Linked DNA regions of Homo sapiens: region 1 is linked to region 2. Evidence: promoter capture Hi-C in 16 types of primary human blood cells and fetal thymus (Javierre and others, 2016). All regions are on one chromosome and are shown on one strand. Each heading gives the region's core, a stretch centred on a gene start or on the middle of the fragment in contact. The rest is flanking DNA. Distances are from core to core; before and after follow the strand shown. Region 1 has its middle 490 kb from the start of CCDC85A. Region 2 holds the start of CCDC85A (coiled-coil domain containing 85A).

Region 1 (6,010 bases), core at 474-2,973, 490 kb after region 2:
GATCTGTGACTTTTGCCAGAGTTACAGTGCCCTGGGAAGGAGGTTTACACAGACATTTAAAAACAGTTCACTATAGCATCTAAGCTGATTCTGATGCCAGGGTATCTAAAACAGTGTTATGGTCCTCTCTTATAGAGGTTTATGGTGGATAAGTTGCAGCAGTGAATACCATAGCTTGTTTTACTAACCCTTCTGCCTAAAATTTTTTCAGACACTGCGTTTCTGTGATTTATACTTTACTCTTTTGGAGGAGTGAGGGCACAAAAATTTCACAAAAAATGGAGAATCATTTTGCAACGTGGGAGCTGGGCAAAATGGGAGGTCACAAATGAATCTGAGTGGTGCAAAGAGTTTTCTGCATGAGACATATTCTAAATGCTACTTCCACTGTTTTTGGCTTGATCTACCCTTTGTCCATGGCCACTTATTTTACTCTGACTGCTATCATCATTAACTTTATATGATAGCACCTTGTCTCCTGCTTGCGTTCTGCATCTCTTGCCTTTCCAACTGTGGTTTGCTGGTTGCCAGTGAGGTGTTAAATGCCATAGGATTCACTTGCCACCTATGCATGTGCAGGGTGGAATTGGAAGTGAAACATGGTGCATAAATTCTCAATCCTTCTTCACGTAGACAGACTCTTATAAAATGGGCTAGTAAATATGCCCTCTCAGAAGGCAGTCTGATATCAAGCAAAATTAGTTGTGCTTGATTTCAAGCAGTGGCCCGCTCAGTAATGCTCTCTCTCCTCTTTGCTCTCGGTTCTTTAATGCCTTACTCTCCATTTCCTTTCCCCTTGCTTCCCCATGATTTCTTTCAGCAGTAAAGTAATACTATACAAATTTATACCCTAAGCTCCTCTTACTTTCACTGGTCTTCTTTTTCTTATCTGAGTGGGGAGTTTCTGATAATTCAACTTAATCTGTAAAGCTTGATTTACCAAGGCAAAATTGATCATTTTCTCGCCTTTGTTACTCCTGATTTCCTAGTCTATACGTTTATCTTGCATTTACCACAATATTTTATAATGATACATATTACTGACTAAACCATGAGCTTTTTGAAGGCTATGTCTTATGCTTCTTTGAATTGTAAATATTTGAATTGGCTCTGAGACATAATACATAATCAAAAATTTTTAATGGGATGAGTTAATGATATTATTAAAATTTATTTTAAATTATTTCAAATTTTATTTTATATTCAGGGTGTACATGTGCAGGTTTGTTCCATGGGTATATTGTGTGATTCTTAGGTTTGGGATATGAATGATACTGTCACTGAGATAGTCAACATGGTACCCAAATGTCAGTTTTTTAACTCTTGCTCCTAGCCCTCCCTCATGCTTCTAGTAGTCCCCAGATTCTATTGTTGCCTTTTTTACATCCATAAGCATCTAGTATTTAGTTCTCAATTATAAGTGAGAATATGTGGTATTTGGCTTTCTGTTCCTGCATTAATTCATTTAGGGTAATAGCCTCTGCTGCATCCATGTTTCTGCCAAGGGTATCTTTTATTTTATAGTTGAATAGTATTCCATGGTGGATATGTACCATGTTTTCATTACTCAATCCACTGTTGATAGGCCCCTAGGTTGATTCCATGTCTTTGCTCTCGTGAATAGAGCTGTGATGAATATACTAGTGCATGTGTCTTTTAAGTAGAGCAATGTATTTTCTTTTGAATAGATACCCAGTAATGGGGTTGCTGGGCCGAATGATGGTTCTGTTTTAAGTTTCTTGAGATATCTCCAAACCGTTTTCCACAGTGTTTGAACTAAGTTATATCCCCACCAACAGTGTATAAGCATTCCCTTTTCTTCAGAGGCTCACCAGCATTTGTTGTTTTTTTACTTTTGTTATTATTATATTTGAAACAGAGTTTGCTCTGTCTCCTGGCCAGGCTGAAGTGCAGTGGCATGATCTTGGCTCACTGCAACATACGCCTCCTGGGTTCAAGTGATTCTCCTGCCTCAGCCTTCCGAGTAGCTGGGATTACAGGCGCACACTACCACACCTAGCTAATTTTTGTATTTTTAGTAGGGATGGGGTTTTGCCATGTTGGCCTGGCTGGTCTTGAACCACTGACCTCGGGTGATCTGCCTGCCTCGGCCTCCCAAAGTGCTGCGATTACAGGCATGAGCCACTGTGCCTGGCCTTGACTTTTTAATAATAGCCATTCTGCCGGGTGTGAGATGGTATCTCATTATGGTTTCGATTAGTATTTCTCGGATAATTAATAATGAGTATTTATTCATGTTTTTTGGCCACTTGTATGTCTTCTTTTGAAAAGTGTGTATTCATGTCCTTGCCCATTTTTAATGAGGTTATTTATTCTGCTCATTGAATTGTTTAAGTTCCTCAGATTTCGGGATATTAGGCCTTTGTCATATGCATATTTTACAAATATTTTCTCCCATTCTGCAGGTTATTTATTTACTCTGTAAGGCTGATCTAGTGGTAACAAATTCCGTTAGTACTTGCTTGTCTGGAAAATATTTTATTTTTCCTTGCTTATGAAGCTTAATTTGGCAGAGTATGAAATTCTTGTAATTTCTTTTTTTTTTTTTTTTTTTTTTTTTTAAGAATGTGCTGAAGAAAGGTCTCCAGTCTCTCCTGGCTTCTAAGAATTTTGCTGAAAATTCTGCTGTTAGCCTAATAAGTTTCCCTTTTTATGGTATCTGCCCTTTTCTCTCTGCCTGTAAGACTTTTTCTTTAGCATTGATCTTGGACAATCTGGTGACTACATGCTTTGATTTGGTTCATTTTCTATAGCTTGTCACAGATGTTCCCTGGATTTCTTGTATCTGAATGCCTACCTCTCTAGCAAGATCAGAAAAATTTTCTAAAATTATTTCCTCAAATATGTTTTCCAGGTTGTCTAATTTTTCTCTTTGTGTCTCAGAAATGCCAATAACTAGGAGGATTATGCTTTACCTAATCCCATATTTCTCAAAAACTTCATTTTTTTTTTTTTTTTTTTTGAGATGGAGTCTCACACCGTCACCCAGGCTGGAGTGCAGTGGTATGATCTTCGCTCACTACAACCTCTGCCTCCCAGATTCAAGCAATTCTCCTGCCTCAGCTTCCCTAGTAGTTGGGATTACAGGCACCCACCACCACGCCCAGCTAATTTTTTGTATTTTTGGTAGGGACGGGGTTTCACCATGTTGGCCAGGCTGGTCTCAAACTCCTGACCTTGTGATTCGCCCTCTTCGGCCTCCCAAAGTGCTGGGATTACAGGCATGAGCCACTGCTCCCAACCCATTAATTTTTTAAGATTTTTTTTTCCTTGTCTTTGTCTGAATTAGTTTGAAAGACTAGTCTTTAAGCTCTGACATTCTTTCTGCTGCTTGGTTCAATCTATTGATAAAGCTTTCAATTATATTTTGAAATTGTTTTTTCAATTCCAGAAGCTCTGATTGATTTATTTTAAGATGTTTATCTCTTCCTTTATTTCCTGGATTGGTTTAGAAGTTTCTTTTTGTTAATTTTCAACCTTTTTTAAGATCTTCTTGAGCTTCCTTGCAACCCATGCTTTGAATTCTTTGTCTGTCATTTTTGAGCTTCCATTTTGGTTAGAAGCCATTGCTGGAGAGCTAGTGTGATACTTTGGTGGTACTGCTATTATACATTTTGTATCGTATGTATTATACATATAATACATTCTGATTTTTCATGGTGGCAGAATTCTTTCACTGGTTTCTTCTCATTTGGAAATGCTGACACTTCCAAATTTTTCTAATTATTTTCATTTGGGTAGGAATTTTTCTCCCCTATAATATTGTTTATTTATTTTTCTTTCGATTTCCCCCCTTTTCCCCTCCATAGATTGTGTGTCTATAGAGAATGTTAGGTATGGTCTTTTGGCTTTGCTTCCATATGTAGTCCTCTGCACTTCTTTCGGTAGGTTTTACATGGGTTGTGTGGTTTGATCTACAAGCCAGTAGATGGCACTTATGGGTAAGAACTGGATGCAGCCAACGTGGTTGGGTATATACTTGATCCTTATGTATCAGGAGAAGCTCTCTGTTGCCTTGGACAATGGGCTGATCTGTGGAGTGCCCAGTGGTTTCAGCTCGCTGCTTAGCCCCAGGGGGTTGGAGGCAAGATGGACAGAGCCAGACCAGGCAGGCCCAGCTTCAGGTCTCCTGATAACAGGCACGACATCAGTGCCATGGGAAAGTCCAGTGGCTGGTGACCAAGCATCCTGAAGTGAGCTTAGGCAGGGAGCTGGGAGACCTGCACAGGCAGGGGGCAGCCTAAACCTAATCCAGGAGAGCAGTTGCTCAAGATGACTAAAAACATTCCTGGGTGTAGAGTGCAGAGTGCTCTGCTGTAGGAAGTAAGGTGGTTTGACCTTCTGATCCAGGTGAGCTGGTGCTCTAACTGCATGGAGATCTGCCTAGGCATTGAGTGGAGAAGGCCCCACTGTACCACAGTCTCTGGGCATGGAACAGAAAGGGTCCTGCTGCATTGTGATCTCTGTGCAGAAAGGATGAAGCAGTTCAGAATGCCAAGCTGGGTGAGCAGGTGCTCCAAATACCTGGAGATCTGCCTGGATGTGAAATGGAGAGGGCCCCCTGCACCATGATCTCTGCACAGAAGGTTGGGACAGGTCAGGCTGCTGACTGAGTGCTCTGGATGCCTGGAGATATACCTGAGCATAAAGTGGAGAGGACATACTGCACCACAATCTATGCCCCGGTAGGGTGGAGCAGCTCAGGTTGCTGATCCAGGAGAGAAGTTGCTCTGAATGCTTGGAGGTTTTCCTAGATATGAAGTGAAAAGGGCCTCACAGAACCAAGATCTCTGCACAGGAAGGGTGGGGCAGGTCAGGCTGCTAATCCATATGAGTAAGTGCTTTGAATGCCTGGAGTTCTGCCTGGGGTGGATCAGAGTGATCCCTGCTGTACCACTATCTCAGGGGATCAGGCTGGAGTACCCAGCAATGACACATGCAAACTAGTTCCAGGTCACCAAGCTGGCCTTGACTGCAAGCCTTGCCTACCAGAAGAAAGTGCAGCTGTAGCAGCTCTCCTCCTGCCCCAGAGCAGTCCTAATGCCTATTTCTGAGGTGCTTTCCAAAATTCTGGCTTTGGAGGTACCTACCCTGCTCCAGAACAAATGCACCAATCTCTAGCCTGAGTTGGAAATGCCTGCATGGCTACACTGGTGGTTCCCCAAAGAAGGACTGACTTTGTATACATTCAGATTAAAAATGGCATCCTGCTCTCAGTTCTAGGTCTAGGAAAATGCCTCTAGTTTTTCCTGGTGCGTTTTCCTCTCAATGCCTCCAAACCTTTCCCTATGTTAGCTCCAGGTCTTGGGAGAAATGAAGTGCTCTCCCTTTGCCTGGGTTGCTTGGATTCCCAGTGGAAAGATGAGTCACAGAAGGAAGTTCCCTGCATCTTTTACGTACTGGGGTTTCACTCATTTTTATCAGCCAGATTCTGTCACAGAGGCTGTTGGACCACATTTTCCTCCTTGGGATCTGGGATGTACATCACAATTTCAGTGGAATCCTGTTTTCCTTCTTGAATTAAAGCACAGAAAGTTGATCTTTATGCACTATCTTGCTGCTTCCAAGTGGCAGAGGCATACTAAAATCCCCTACTCTGCTATCTTGGGGGAAAAAAGAAAATTGAAATAAACTAAAATTTAATATTATGACTAAGTTATAATTTAGTAGTCTGTGTGAAAGCAGAAAGAAGTCTAAGAAGGCTTATACTACACAAGTACCTATTAGGTACTCACATGTAATTATTGTGTAAACATATATAATATTTTATTTGCCTGTACATTTTATCTATCTAGCTAGCTGTATCTTAACGACCTATGTCTCTATTTTCAGTAATATCCCTTTGAGGATGAGGAAGATAATAGACAAGGGCCACTAATAAAGCAGTAGCACTTGAAGTTACTTGTTCAAAATCAAAACACACTATATTCTTTGGAGAAATGATTTTTATTGCTACAGTTAGGAAGAGAGCCTGGATTGCTCCTTTGTT
Region 2 (6,432 bases), core at 995-3,494:
AGATAATTATTATTCTGAATCAATGACCAAAATTAGAAACATGAAAACCTTAAGGTGATCTAGCTCAACTGTAATCCACTGCTAGTGTATATAATTTGTGGAGACTTTTTTTTTTTTTTTGGCTTTCCTTCTTCCTTGTCTTCCCAACACAAGTCTAATTTTTCCTCTCAGCCATCTCTCTGATTTCTCATATCTATTTGGTGTTAACTGATCAGAGGGAGTTAGCAGAGAAGGGGGCTGGCTGTTTCATTTTAGAATACGACTCTTGAAGAACCCGTGATGGAGGAATAAACAGAAGTCCTGGTTCCTATTTCTAGACAAGAGGCTGCCCAATGTAATATGTAATATCAGTAATAGTAAGGTTGCATTTCTGTAGGGTGGCTCGATCAAGCGCTTCTTGTATACCATATCATTAGCTGCCCGAGGGCCAGTAAGGTCGGATGGTTTGTTCAAGGACAAGAACTAACAAGTAACAGAGATAGGACTTATCTTTTTCTGACCTTCACTTTCCCTTTCTGTGACAAAACTGGTCTTAGGAACTGTGTTGAGCAGAGCCTTCTGTGGGCGTGAGAGCGGCTTGGAGGTGTCAAAGAAAAATTGCATCCGATATAGTTAAACAGACAAGGGGGAATTATTCAAGGCTATTGCAATAGGGAAGAGAGAGAGGGAGGGAGAGGGGAACTAGTAGAAGACTAGTGGAGGAGATTAGGATGGGAAGTTGGTCAGTGTAATGAGGCCATTTGTGTTTCCTAATTGGAACTTATTAAAGTTAGGCTCCTCCTCTCCACAAACACTAGGAGATAGGGACCCTTTTTTCCTTGATGATTACATTTCAAAGGGATGCCTCACAGATCCCTGAGAAAGATCCCCAGGCTGTAAAACCCAGCAAGAGGCGGAGAGATTTACATGTCAAAGGGTCAGAGGAAACATTCACCAATGGAAGTTGGCTAAAGTAAATGCTCTGAGAAAAGGAAGGTCTGGGGCCTACAGTTAGGAAGAAACCTGTCTAAAGTTTAGTTAAGCTGAGGGGAATGTTAAGGCCATTTGGTCACCGTAAGCAGTACCACATTTCCTTGCCTCTCCCGGGAGCCAGGTCTCAGTGTCCCCAATAGGGGACACGCACTGACCGGCGGGTGAAGGGACTGATTTTGATTATCATCCTACCAGATAGAGATTATTCCCTCTGCACCCGGGTTAACTGAAACCCGGTGGGGGTAGATCCTTGCCATTTTCCGGCCCTGTACCCCACTGGAAATAACATGCGGTGGTCAAGGGCATCCACCTCTTTAGGCAAAAGCATGTTTTCAGCCCAGAGACGATTCCACCCAACTTTACAAGAGGATAGCCCAAAGATAGAAGCCAGGGACTCAGACTTCCTCCTTCCAGAAATAACCATCATAAAAAAGCCGACCCAGTAAACGCCTGGCAGCCTGCGGCATAGAAGAAAATGGAAATCTCCTTGGCTGGCATTTCAGCTTGCCTGAGGGGGCTTGCTTTGCTCCGAGGGGAGGTGACTGTGCTGACCTTAAAATCCAGGTTTCAGGAAGCAGGAGATGAAGGTATTTTATTTTCGCCTAAAGGCTTTGATATTTTTCAAATAAAAATTTAAAAGATCCAGTACCTTCTCCCGAAGCTTCTTCATAGAGTAGTGGATTTTTAGAAAACACAAAGGCCTAGGGGTGGGGCGAGAGTGGGGGGTGGGGATGGGTAGCCCCATAAGAGCAGTGCCCTGACGCCTCTTTTCGCCCTTTTCAGACCATTTGGATTTTCTTAAGCTGCCCCTTTCCCCAACCCCCGTTTTTGCCATTTGCCTCTCCTCCCATTCTCCAAAGTGCAAATAACTGGTTATCCCTCAGGTCCTGCTACCCCATCTTTCCTGATCCCCGATCCCTCCAAATACGAAGCACCTCGCATTTGGGTCAGCAGCTGTTTCCCCTGCCTGGTGACAAGGCCGGTGTGCAGAGGGCAGAGGAGGGAGCTTCTTCCGCCACACGGTGGCGCGCGCGAGCCTCCCAAAGACCGGGCGGCCACAGCTCCTCACCTTCTCCCCATTCCAGCCCCACCCGCCCGGGCGCAGAAAGAGCCGCGCCCCCAGCCCTCCCGGGCAGGACAGCCGGGAGCGCACCTCGAGGGCCCGGGCAGCGGTCGAGTGGCAGCTGCGTCCAGCCCATGCGGGAGCTGCTGCGGGTTACGGGTGGCCCCAGCTCCAGGCTCCTCCTCCAGCCGGTCCCCCACCCTCCACCCCTTCTCGACTCCGCTCTGCAAATCGAAGGCTTTCCGGAGCAGCCTAGGAGCGGCCGCGGGCGCAGCGAAGGCGGCAGGAGGAGCGCAGCAGCCTTCGGGCAGCCGCGGCGGCGTCGCTAGAGCAGCCGGGGAGGCGCCGCGGTGCCCGGCGCGCCCTCCAAGCTAGGAGAGGGGAGAAGCCGGGGGCTGCAGCTGGGCAAGGGGGAGGAAAGTGCGTGTGCGTGCACGCCTGTGTGCAGGGCAGAGAGTGCGGGGGGCGACAGTCTCGGCTTAGGGCGGAGGAGAGGGCAGGGGAACGGCGGTGCAGCTCCCCCGCTGTCCCCGAGGATTTCCCGCGGCAGCCCCGGGCTCCCCAGTGCCCCTCACCATGGACTTGCGCGGAGTTGGGACGGGCCTCGGCAGCAGCAAGCGGCTGGCTGCCGGGCCCTGGGGGAGCGCGGGCGCGCGCGCGGGGATGGCGAGGTAGGATGGCCACCCAGCGCGACCCCCGCCGCCCCAACCCAGCGGCCCCTGGGCGGTGCCGCTGACTCGCCGGAGCGCACAGGGGTGTGGGCGGAGGCGGCCTCGCCGCGCCCGCGCCTTCGGGAGTCGCCTCGCCTCTTCCACCCACTTGCACCTGCCACCCCGCGGATACCATGTCGAAGGCGGCCGGAGGCGCGGCGGCGGCTGCGGCGGCGGCGGAAAGTTGTTCCCCAGCCCCGGCCGGCTCGTCCGCGGCCCCGCCCGCGCCGGTGGAGGACCTGTCCAAAGTGTCGGACGAGGAGCTGCTGCAGTGGAGCAAGGAGGAGCTGATCCGCAGCCTGCGGCGCGCCGAGGCGGAGAAGGTGAGCGCGATGCTGGACCACAGCAACCTCATCCGCGAGGTGAACCGCCGCCTGCAGCTGCACCTCGGCGAGATCCGCGGCCTCAAGGTGAGCGCGGGCCAGGTGGGGAGGCGCGGCGCGGCTGGGAGCGGGGTGCCCCGAGGAGGAGGCGGGGCCAGGCAAACTTTCCCTCCCTCCCTCAACAGGTGACCCTCCCCTTCTCCCGGTCGGCACCCCCTACCCCCAGTCCCCAGCCCCTGTGTAACTTTTCCAAACTTCGGAGGCGTCTGCTCCCCTCCTCTCCCCAACACGGGGCGCTCCACTGTCTGGCTGTTCGGGGAGGCGCTGAGGACGCTGGAAAGCAGGGAGGGAGGTGAAGGGCACGCGAACCTTTCATTTCTTAGGGAGGCTGGAAAATCTGTGCCTGGGGAGCCGGGTTTCAGTCAGTTAGGCGGAAAGGCCAGTGAGGGGGTGAATCCAGGGGATCTTCGCCTTGGAGGGTCGGGAATGCGGCTGCTCTGGGCCAGCAGCTCTTGGGCGGGCAGAGGGCGAGGAAAGGGCGCCACTGCCAGGGAGAGCGGCTGGCGGGGCGCCCGGGAGAAGCAGCGGGCGCCACCCTCAGAGCAGTCTTGTGTCACCGGGTACATAGGAGTTCAAGCTCTGCCTTCACGTCTTCTCCCAATTCCTGTGCTTTCCCTCTCCCGGAGTTTGGAAGGCATCCCCTGGAGTTGCCTTACTCCCCTTCCCACTTAACCCCAGGTTGACTGGGGGAAAGAGGAGGAGCAAAGAGACTCAGTATGGAAGGAGCAGCATTTTGACAGAGTACCCCAAGTGTTGGTCAGTGATGGTTTCTTTCTGAGCCAGCCCCCCTGCCACCCTCTTCTAGGAAAAGAAGGGAAACGTACCCCAAGCCCACTAACTTTCTTTTCTCCTTGGAGAGCGCCGGGTCTGCGAGGAGTGTGCCTGCCCAGCTGCAGTACACTAGTGGCCGGGAACCGCCCTGCTGGCGAGCACCACAAACTTCCTCTCCTTCCAGCTAGCGCTGGTGCCTCCTGGTATTCCTTCCTCTCATTGTTCTGCTTTGTTTGTAGGAAGCCAGACACAAACGAAATCACTGCAGGGACTTCAGGGAGCAAATTCCCGAAGGCACAAGCTGTTCTTTTCCCCTTTCCACTCCTATCCCCACATATCAGACAGTAGATGCTGTTCCGGAATTGCCTCAGTGCTCCAGCTCTGGGATTCTGGGGCAAGAAAGAGTGGGAAGAGTGGAATGCTCAAGGCTCACCTATGTGCTGGGCCCAGTTCAGGTGGAGATGGCCGTCTCCCGAGGCCGAAAGTCATTGTCATATAGTCCCTAGAGTGGGTGCAGGTAGGAAGATTCCTCCAGTCAGAAAAATGCCAAGGCTTACTCTCTCCTGTGGTTGAATTCATTACTAACAGAGTGTTTATTAAGTGCCAGTCTCTTTGGGGAATAGAGGCAGGCTAGTGTAGTAGGAAGATGATCTCAGAGGTGGGTTTGAATTCTAGAAACCTCATTTGCCAGGAGGGTGAGCTTGGGTAATTACTTTCTCAGATCCTCCTTTTATTCACCAATACAATGCAATGATAATAACTTTCTGAGGGTGTTATGGCAATAAGTTATGATTATGTAGGGGAAGGTTTAATACTTGACTATAAAATGGTAGTTACTGTCATCAGGAAAGGACTTACAAATCTATGGCTGTGTGTCCCCAAGATTTTGGTTTCTTAGGCAGAGCTGGACAAGGGGGCATTAGTTTGTCATCCTCTAATTTGAGTTTCTTCCATGGTCTGAACAATAGTGTGATTTAGAAGAGTTGGAAGAGTTATTATTAAATGTTTTAATAGTATGGAGCATCAAAATAATAGCTCAGAAACACTTGAAAGTTCCTTTAGGTTATGTGGATTGACTGTGTGTGATGTCTGTGTGTGGGTAGGGGAGGGGAATGGTAGAGTGGGTTGGTAGAGTGCCTGGGCTTCATTCCAGTAGCTTCATGTAGAGAAGTAGCTATTAGGTCAGCTAAAGGCCCGTACACCCAAGTAAGAAAGTCTCCTTGTGATCTAGATTCATGACCTGGCATTAAAAGACTTGCCAGTCTACTTCCTTATCAAGTTCAGAAATGATGGGGGCAGGTTGCTTTCTGATGCAGCTTCTACTCTTCTCATGTCATCCCTGGGCTGCTGCAAGGAGCGGACTCCCAGGCTTCTGGCCCACCCTGGGTGTGCTGTGGTTTTACTCTTTGGAGAGGCCAGCCTTCTCCCTTCTCTTTTTTATTTTGGCTCAGAGCTTCCTTGGACACCATAGTAATCCATAAATGTGGTTGATTGAATAAATGATGGGTACATATATTTATTTTGGCTTAACTGGAAGAAAAGAAGTATTTTTTTTTGTTAAGGGCGTGGGGGAGCGTCTGAGGGCTTGGCATTCTCAGTTGAGAACTATAAATGTAGGGGAATTAAGACCATAATACATTTTCTTTTTTATGCCTCTTTCTATGAGCTGACTTTGAAATTGCATCTAAATATTTGTAAGGCTACCAGGTGTTATTGTAGCTGTGGACACAGGAGATGGCAGCATCAGTTCTTTACTTTTCAGGGGCCTGTGGCCGGGTCCTAGCACTGATTGACTTGTTTGTGTTTAGATATTTGGGAGGCAGGGCAGTGCAGGGGCCCTGAGAAGTGGAAAGATAAAGAATTTGGATTCTGATAATTTGGGCAGCTTTGGCCAATTGTTAAACTCTCTGTCTCTCGGTTTTCTCATCTGCTCATGGGGATTTTAATTCCACATGAGGTTTTATGAGGATGAAATATACCATAGATGAAGAAACCCCAGTGAAGTTAGATAGTTTTCTCAAGGTCACACAGACATAAAGTGTTCAAAATCGGCCTGCTTTCCTTTTCTTTTGGCTAGTTGACATTCTTTGCTTAGAATGTGTGGTCCTGGAAGGGGTGGATGAGGGAGATTCTAGTTAGGGTTATGTTGTAAGGAACTGGATTCCTGAGAACCATGTCTTTGGACTGCTGAGCATATACCAACACTTCAGGCTGCTCTGACCCAGTATCCCAGTTGGGGGCTGATTCGGGATGAATCTCTGTAGATTTGTTTTCTTCATTGCATTAATTTCCCTCCTTGGTTCCTAACCCAACCACCGACCCGCCCACCACCCTGCTCTGCAGTGAAGCAAAATAACAAATTAAAACAATTATTTAACTGTAGATACAGTACTTGATAGTCTTCAGGCATAAGATTGAAATTTTGGTTGGTGTGCTACGAAGTGGACTTAACCTTTTAAAAGTCCACTTAGACACTTGGATAATTTCTGGTGGCCGGTGGCAATGTTAAAAGGACACCTAGTGTTTTGCAAAA

What was found. The method cuts DNA at HindIII sites, captures the fragments that hold promoters and counts their contacts. A CHiCAGO score of 5 or more calls a contact.
Region 1: a fragment that was not itself captured here is called in contact with the fragment with the promoter of CCDC85A in region 2 in 1 of 17 cell types (endothelial precursors); the score reaches 5.0 in endothelial precursors.

Annotation. Positions count from the first base shown.
Region 1 is chr2:56,668,223-56,674,232 of GRCh38, forward strand. No RefSeq gene overlaps it. Among named protein-coding and RNA genes, the nearest start is that of CCDC85A, 490 kb to the left of the region's middle. The HindIII fragment of the contact is 1,591 bases long and covers 929-2,519 here.
Region 2 is chr2:56,181,746-56,188,177 of GRCh38, forward strand. It overlaps CCDC85A (coiled-coil domain containing 85A), which reads left to right and starts at 2,245. Exons shown (of 6, transcript NM_001080433.2): 1 at 2,245-3,155. The coding sequence starts at 2,880. LOC100129434 (a long non-coding RNA gene) reads right to left here and starts at 4,025. Exons shown (of 3, transcript NR_125368.1): 1 at 3,953-4,025. RefSeq lists a silencer at 1,915-2,244. The HindIII fragment of the contact is 6,654 bases long and covers 1,632-6,432 here.